Linked DNA regions of Homo sapiens: regions 1 and 2 are each linked to region 3. The links are contacts of gene promoters, found by promoter capture Hi-C in blood cells and fetal thymus (Javierre and others, 2016). All regions are on one chromosome and are shown on one strand. Each heading gives the region's core, a stretch centred on a gene start or on the middle of the fragment in contact. The rest is flanking DNA. Distances are from core to core; before and after follow the strand shown.

Region 1 (2,700 bases), core at 60-2,559, 290 kb before region 3:
TTTTCCTGTGGGTTTTTTGTTTGTTTTTGGCTTTTCATAGACATCTATATGAAGTCTCTGCTTTAGAATCTATAAAACTATAGCTTCAGAGGCTGGGCGCAATGGCTCATGCCTATAATCCCAGCACTTTGGGAGGCTGAGGTGAAACGATCACTTGAGGTCAGGAGTTCGAGACCAGCCTGGCTAACAGGGCGAAACCCCGTCTGTACTAAAAATGCAAAAATTAGCCAGGCATGGTGGCAGGCACCTGTAATCCCAGCTGCCTGGGAGGCTGAGGGAGGAGAATCACTTGAACCCAGAAGGCGGAGGTTGCAGTGAGCCGAGATCATGCCACTGCACGACAGAGCGAGACTCCATCTCGAAACAAAAAACTGTAGCTTCAGAGATTCACTTAAATTATCATTTATAGGCCAAGAGAGTTGTGGCTCACAGCCTGTAATCCCAGCATTCTAAAAGGCTGAGGTGGGTGGATCACTTGAGGCCAGGATTTTGAGACCAGCCTGGGCAACATGGCAAAACCCTGTTTCTACAAAAAGGAATTTGCTGGGTGTTGTGATGCACACCTGTAGTCTCAGCTACTTGGCGAGGCTGAGGCCAGGGGACTGCTTGACCCCAGGAGGTCGACCCTGCAGTGAGCCATGATAGCACCACTGTACTCTAGCCGGGGCGATCAAGTGAGGCCCTGTCTCCAAAAAAAAGTTTTGTTTTGTTTTGTTTTAAGACAGGGTCTCACTTTGTCATCTACATTGCAGCACAGTGGTGCCATCACAGCTCACTGAAGTCTTCACCTCTCAGGCTTAAAGGAGCCTCCAACCTCAGCCTTCCAAGTAGTTGGCACTACAGGCATGCGCCACCACACCTGGCTCATTTTTGTATTTTTAGTAGAGATGGGGTTTCACCATGTGGCCAGGCTGCTCTTGAGCTCCTGGACGCAAGTGATCTTCCGCCCTCGGCCTCCCAAACTGCTGGGATTACAGGTGTGAGCCAGTGTGCTGGATGAATTTTTTCAAAGAAGGAAAAATAAAATTAATTCGGCCCTTCATTAAAAAAATTAAAAACTCTTTAAAGGAAACGTGGGCTAAGTTATTTTTCTGAGAGACTATAAGATTTAGGAAGAAAAATAATCATGATGAAACGTTTTGGGAATATTTTTGGTATTTAAAATTATTGTAGAAATTTATAAATGTGTCAGATTTTGGCTGGGCACAGTGGCTCACACTTGTAATCCAAGCACTTTGGGAGGCCAAGGTGGGCAGACCACCTGAGGTCAGGAGTTCGAGACCAGCCTAGCCAACATGGTGAAACCCTATCTCTAAAAGAATTTTTTAAAAAAATTTTAAGTCAGATTTTAAGAAATATTCTTATGGCTGGGTACAAGTGGCTCATAACTGTCATCCCAGCACTTTGGGAGGCAAAGGCAGGCAGATCACTTGAGCTCAGGAGGTAAGTTACCTGGGCAACACAGCAAGACTCCATCTCTACAAAAAAAAAAGTAGCTGGGCATGGTGGTGAGCACCTGTAGCTATTTGAAGGGGTTGAGGCAGGAGGATCACTTGAGCCTGGCAGGTCAAGGCTATAGCAAGCCGTGTTTATGTCACTGCAGTCCAGGCAGGGTGACAAAGTGAGACTCTTATCTCCAAATAAGAAAGAAACCCTCTTGGTCATAGATATGATTTCTTTACACCAAATTTGTTCGTGGATGCCAATCACAATGGGTTTGTCCCTAGGGTAATATAGTTTGCTTTGATCATTTCCAAGAGTAAGTTGTACTACAGGATAGCAGAAGAGATGCACTTAAAAAGTATGGCAAAATGCATATTGAGACAATAGTATGTTGGCCAGACACAGAGACTCACGCTTGTAATCCCAGCACTTTGGGAGGCTGAGATGGGTCACCTGAGGTCAGGAGTTCAAGGCTAGCCTGGCCAACATGGTGAAACCCTGTCTCTAACAAAAATACAAAAAATTAGCTGAGCTTGGTGGCACGTGCCTGTGGTCCTAGGTACTTGGGAGGCTGAGGTGGGAGGATCACTTGAGCCTGGGAGGTGCAGGGTACACTGAGCCGAGATTGTGCCACTGCACTCTAACCTGGGTGACAGAGTGAGACCCAGTCTCAAAAAAAAAAAAAAAGAAAAAACAAGATGCAGTAAAGAAGCCGACCAAAACCAAGATGGTGACGAAAGTGACCTCTGGTCGTCCTCACTGCTCATTAAAACTTTTTTTAAAAAATATGAAAAGAGGCTGGGCCCTGTGGCTCACACCTGTAATCTCAGGACTTTGGGAGGCCAAGGCAGGTGGATCGCCTGAAGTCAGGAGTTTGAGACCAGCCTGGCCAACGTGGCACAACCAAAAATGCAAAAATTAGCCAGATGTGGTGGCACACACCTGTAATCCCAGCTACTTGGGAAGCTGAGGCAAGAGAATTGCTTGAAGCCAGGAGACAGAGGTTGCAGTGAGCCGAGATCATGCCACTGTACTCCAGCCTGGGAGACAGAGCAAGGCTCCGTCAAAAAAAAAAAAAAAAAAAAAAAGCCGGGCCTGGTGGTGCACATCTGTAGTCCCAGCTACTCGGGAGGCTGAGGTGGGAGGATCATGTGAGCCTGGGAGGTCCAGGCTGCAGGGGGCCGTGATCCTGCCCCTGCCCTGCAGCCTGGGTTATACAGCGAGACAAAAGAAAAAAGTTAGTGGTAACAGGATAAA
Region 2 (2,700 bases), core at 201-2,700, 270 kb before region 3:
ATCTGCCATAGCTGGATTATGCAGCTTTGCAAAAATTCTACTAGATTTTATTCTAACTCATATTAGCTTTGTCCTATCAACTTCTGGAATTTATCTAATTATTGCTTTTAAAAGTTTCCTTCCTTTCAACGTTTCCCTGCTATGCAAAACCTTTCCCAGACCTTGGTTTCTTAAAAGAAAGATGTTGCTACAGTTCCCAATTCTTTCTTATTACAGGCTCAGGTGTACAGGTTATTCTGGCTTAATTTTATCTAATGAAGCCCATTCCTTTTTGTACATGAAGATGTCACTTAAACCTATGTTTACAAACTAAAGAGACTAATCACTCAATATGAAAACATGAAAACATTTTTGCTTAAAATATTAAGATGGAAATACTTAAATATGGATTATTTTGTCCTTTTACTTTTTAAAAAAAGTTACATATTGTATGCACTGTGCTGATGCAAGAATTCTACATTTTAATGAATTATAAAATTATTCTGCATCTCATCACGTCACAGTATTTCTGCACTATTTATTCATATATATAGAAATATATATGGGCTTAATCATTTAAAATTTGTTGCAGCAAGAACTTTCCTACCTGTAGGCAATAGATTGCTATGTTTTCAACAAATTGTGGCAAATTCTAAACAGCAATTCTTTTGTATGTAATAGGACATTTCATACTAGAAAAATAAAGTAATGTTTTTGACATTGGATTTGGTGCAGTTTCTAATGAAGCAACGGTTGGTTGGTGGTAATATGTCTTCTGTAGCTGTTAGCATTGCCAAATTAAAAAGGGTAAATTTTATGGAAATCCTGAGACCAGGAAGATATTAATTTCATGTGTATTTAATGGTATAAAGTGTTTTACAGTTTCTATCACCATACAAATACATAAAGACATTTTATAGTTTTATCAACTATAGGGCTTTAGTCTTTCAAAAGTAATTTTTGAAAAACACACATTCCTGGCCAGGTGTGGTGGCCCACGCCTGTAACCCCAGCACTTTGGGAGGCCGAGGCAGGGGGGATCACCTGAGGTCAGGAATTTGAGACCAACCTGGCCAACATGGTGAAACCCCATCTCTACTAAAAGTACAAAAATTAGCCAGGCATGGTGGCAGGCACCTGAAATCCCAGCTACTAGGGAGGCTGAGGCAGGAGAATCACTTGAACCTGGGAGGCGGAGGTTGCAGTGAGCCGTGATCACGCCATTGCACTCCAGCCTGGGGGACAAGAGTGAGACTTCATCTCAAAAAAAATAAAAAAGAAAGAAAAACATACATTTTTTAGAACATAATGAGTTCTGAAAGCTGCTTTTCTGTGAGTAATCTTTGAAAGCTTCTGCTATTAAGATCTATATAACACAGCTATTTTGCTTTCAATAATCCAGGCAGTAAACTGTACATTTGTGATACTCTTAGGATGTTTCTACCACAGGCCTTGGGCTTGTAAATATATTTAATTTGCATCAGTAGATTTCCTTGGCTAAAAGTATTTTCAATAACTGTTATGCTTCACCTGCCAAGTTCACAATCCTTGAAACCATTTCATGAAAAGTATTTTCCTATTGGTAAAGCTTTTATTCTCCTATCCAAATTCTACAGGAGGTTTAAATAAAATTGTGGCTGGGCATGGTGGCTCACGCCTATAATCCCAGCACTCTGGGAGGCTGAAGCGGGCAGATCACAAGGTCAGGAGTTAGAGACCTGCCTGACCAACATGGTGAAACCCTGTTTCTACTAAAAATACAACAATTTAGCTGGACAAGTGGCACACACCTGTAGTCCCAGCTACTCAGGAGGCTGAGGTGGGAGGATGGCTTGAACTGGGGAGGCAGAGGTTGTAGTGAGCTGAGATTGTGCCACTGCACTCCAGCCTGAGCGACACAGCAAGACTCTGTCTCAAAAAAAAAGTGAACTTTTGGAGATATTTTCTGAAGTAAAATAATTACCTTTTTATATTCCAAATGGCCTAGAGTGTTATTTAGAGACACTAAGATTTGCTGTTGTTTGTAATCTACCTTCCTGGGATCTGCAAATAAAAGTTATTTCCCTATTTCTGCTAATTCCTTTAGGCAAACTCTCTACTTCTTTATGTTAAAGAGCCAACCTGGTGGACTTTCAGATCTCTGCACACTTAGTTAGACAAAGTTACATGGTTATTACAGCTTTCACTCTTCCTGATTGAAACTATCATGATACGGCTGGGCGTGGTGGCTCACACGTATAATCCCAGCACTTTGGGAGGCCAAGGCAGGTGGATCACCTGAGGTTGGGAGTTTGAAACCAGCCTGACAAACATGGAGAAACCCCATCTCTACTAAAAATACAAAAAAAAAAAAAAAAAAAAATTAGCTAGGTAAAGTGGCGCATGCCTGTAATCCCAGCTACTTGGGAGGCTAGAGCAGGAGAATCACTTGAACCCAGGAGGGAGAGGTTGCGGTGAGCTGACATCATGCCATTACACTCCAGCCTAGGCAACAAGAGCGAAACTCCTTCTCAAAAAAAAAAAAAAAAAAGAAACTATTACCATAGGTCTCAGATTTCTTGCCCTTAATGTGAGAATGGGGATATTCCATGGATAAAATAATGAAGTACTTGAGGAGGTGGAGGGAAGAGCCAACCGAGAAGTATTTTTAATAATTTGAAACATTCTAAGGTATTTCTAGATACTTGGAGTGAGATACTAAAAGACTTTTCTTAGAAGATT
Region 3 (2,700 bases), core at 1-2,500:
GATCGGCGGGGCCTACGGGCTCTTCCTGCCTGGCACCCCACCCAGCTCCTCCTCCTTGCCTGCAATCTCTACCCCTACCCAGCTGGTGCTCCAGTGCGGCCACCTGATTATCTGCATTTTCCTTTCAAAATAATTCCATTTGGGGCCCCAAAGCAATCTATGTTCACTGTAGCAAATCCTGAAAACAGAGAAAAGCACAAAGAAGAAAACAGAGAAAAGCACAAAGGGGAAAACAGACGTTTTCCGTTTTTCCCCCAATGATTTGCAGCAATCTGCGGCAGTTTTCAGCCTCTGCAGGTTCCCAAACGTGACTTGGCTCCTGCTCTTTTCCCTTTGGTGTTAGCATCTGTTCCGGCACGGTTGAGGGATTCTTCAGACTCCGCCAGCTTTGCCTCTTTTGTAGCCAAACATTTATTGAGCACTTACTGCATACTGGGTACTACATGAGGCCACAGGGACCCAAAGGTCTCAGCAAAAGCTCGTGGAGCCTTCAGGCCAGTCCAGGAGGAGGAGGCCTGACACCCTTCAGCGGGTCATTTTAAAGGCTCTTGTGCATGGACCCTGTATGACATTTTTCTTTTTCTTTTTTCCTGGAGATTCATGTGTTGGTCTTTGTTATGGCTGAGGTTTAGTTTCAGACAATTTTTCTAGGCTTTCCTGGCATTTAAGGGAGGCTGTGACTGTGTCCTCTGCCACTTTTCCACACTTCGTCCCCCAAAATATCTCAAGAAAAGTCAAGTCACCCTTTCTCCTTTAACCCTTTAGTAGATTTGGACGTGCTGCCTCCACCCAGCATGGTGACGTCATAACCTGGGGCTCCCATCTGCCCCTTTCTACACTTGGCATGAGGTCGCCTGACTCTCACCCCTCATGGGCAGAGGCAGGGCAGCTGCAGGGTGGGAGGGACAGTTCTGGCCCTGAAAGGGGCCTTCAATGGAAAGTTGTCTTCCCTGCTCAGCCCCATTCCTGCTGCTCTCTTCAGAGCTGTAAGAACTGGGCCAAATGGTGCCCACACCTTCCAAGCCAACCTCAGATGAACTCAGGGTCAACAGGGAAGCTACTTCCCATGCTAAGCTGAGGGTTCTGTCTCTGGCAACCTGAATCATCCACTCACACAGAGGCTGAGTTAAATTAACCCCGCATTCAATGAGGGCCGGCCACCTGCACAGTCTTGTGGGGGCTGCAAAAATGCATGAGACTTGGCCTCCACCCTCACTCATGGCCCAGACTAGGGAGCAGCAGACACATGCTCAGTGTGGTCAGAGTTTACAGGGGCTTTAAGAAGAGAGAGGGGAATCCAGGAAGACTTCCTGGAGGAGATGGCAACTGAACTTGGATTTAAGGGAAGGGAAGAGATAAGGAGAGAAGGACATTCCCCACCATGGGACACAGGGCAGGGTATGGCAGAACCCAGGGGCCCCCAGAGGTGCATGGGCGGGGAACCCCAGACGGGGAGCAGCAGATTCAGGCTAGGGGGAAGGGAGCACCTTGTGGGTGCTGCTTGTTATGTGACTTGAGGAGATCCTGGATGGCAGTCTGGGTGCTGGAGCAGGATGGGGGTGCATGGGTGGGCAATGGGAGAAAAGGCAGGAAAGGCCAGTGAGGGCCCCTCTGGGGTCTTGGGCAGCACCAAGGCCAGGCACCCTGGAGAATGAAAGTCACGGTGGTCCCAAGATGGGGCTTCTGGAGGCGACTTTCGAGAACCGAATGAGGACTGGAAAGTCTGGAGACGAGGGAGCGCATTGTCCCCAGTGGAAGCGCAGGACAGTTTCCCTCAGCTGCGGTACAGGACAGAGGCCCTGGGTCACCTGTGAGTTATTTCCCCAAGGTCTCTAACCAGGCCACTGTGGTGGATGAGGGTCCAGAGAGCCTCTTCCACTACAAGCTCCACATGCCTGAGCAGGAAAAGGCCGGACCTTAATTTAACCCGGATCGTTTGCCATCAGGAGGGAGATTCTGAGATGTTCTCTTCCTTCCCTCCCTCCTGTGTTCCAGGGAGCTCTGCCCTTGTCCCCACAGCCACAGGGGAGCCACTGTCTGTCCTTTCCTCGATGAGAGGAGGTGCTCTGGGGCACAGCCGAGTCTTCTCCACCTCTGTGCACCGCCTGGCACGCAGGGACTCTCAAAAGAGGCCTGATGCACAGAGGCAGGGTCTACACATGCGTCCCTTTTAACCCGACCGTCCATTTCCATCCCGATGGGATGTGACACTGCACTCACAAGCTTGTTCGGGGGCAGGGGGGATCCTGGGTGGGGGGAGGTGGCAGGGTTTGAGGCAAGGTGCCCATGTGCACTGGTGGCCACCCTCCGTCCAAATGCCCCAGGCTCAGACCCAAGTGATAAGAACTTCAATGGTGTGGAGAGCGCCTGCGTGGGGGAGGCAAGCTGACACGCAGGCCCAGGGTTCCAGAAAGCCCCCTAGCTCCCCGAGGCCCAGTGCCCAGAAGGCCCAGCACATCTGCAGCCTCAGAGTGAGCTGTGGTCCTTCTCACCCCCAGCCTCCTCTTCACCCTTCCCCAGCTCCCCAGTGCTGGGTGGCGGGAGCGGGGTCCTGGGCTGAATTGTGGTCCCCGCAAATTCACATGTTGAAGCCCTAACCCCCCTCCCCAACACCCCCGTACCTTAGAATGTGACTCTATTTGGAGACAGGGCCTTTAGAGAGGTGACTAAGTGAAAAATGAGGTCATCAGGCTGGGCCCT

The links. The method cuts DNA at HindIII sites, captures the fragments that hold promoters and counts their contacts. A CHiCAGO score of 5 or more calls a contact.
Region 1: a fragment that was not itself captured here is called in contact with the fragment with the promoter of STH in region 3 in 9 of 17 cell types (activated CD4 T cells, naive CD8 T cells, total CD4 T cells and 6 more); the score reaches 10.1 in activated CD4 T cells.
Region 2: a contact is called between a fragment that was not itself captured here and the fragment with the promoter of STH in region 3, in 9 of 17 cell types (endothelial precursors, activated CD4 T cells, megakaryocytes and 6 more). The highest score is 10.0, in endothelial precursors.

What each region holds. Positions count from the first base shown.
Region 1 is chr17:46,288,137-46,290,836 of GRCh38, reverse strand. It overlaps a transcript of LRRC37A not described here and a transcript of ARL17B not described here. Among named protein-coding and RNA genes, the nearest start is that of LRRC37A, 5.6 kb to the left of the region's middle. RefSeq lists an enhancer at 2,173-2,673. The HindIII fragment of the contact is 2,890 bases long and covers 1-2,700 here.
Region 2 is chr17:46,270,974-46,273,673 of GRCh38, reverse strand. It overlaps a transcript of LRRC37A not described here. Among named protein-coding and RNA genes, the nearest start is that of LRRC37A, 23 kb to the left of the region's middle. The HindIII fragment of the contact is 238 bases long and covers 1,332-1,569 here.
Region 3 is chr17:45,997,800-46,000,499 of GRCh38, reverse strand. STH (saitohin) reads right to left here and starts at 1,250. Exons shown (of 1, transcript NM_001007532.3): 1 at 806-1,250. The coding sequence starts at 1,220. The coding sequence ends at 834. The region is part of intron 9 of MAPT (microtubule associated protein tau); the gene reads right to left. The HindIII fragment of the contact is 3,833 bases long and covers 1-2,225 here.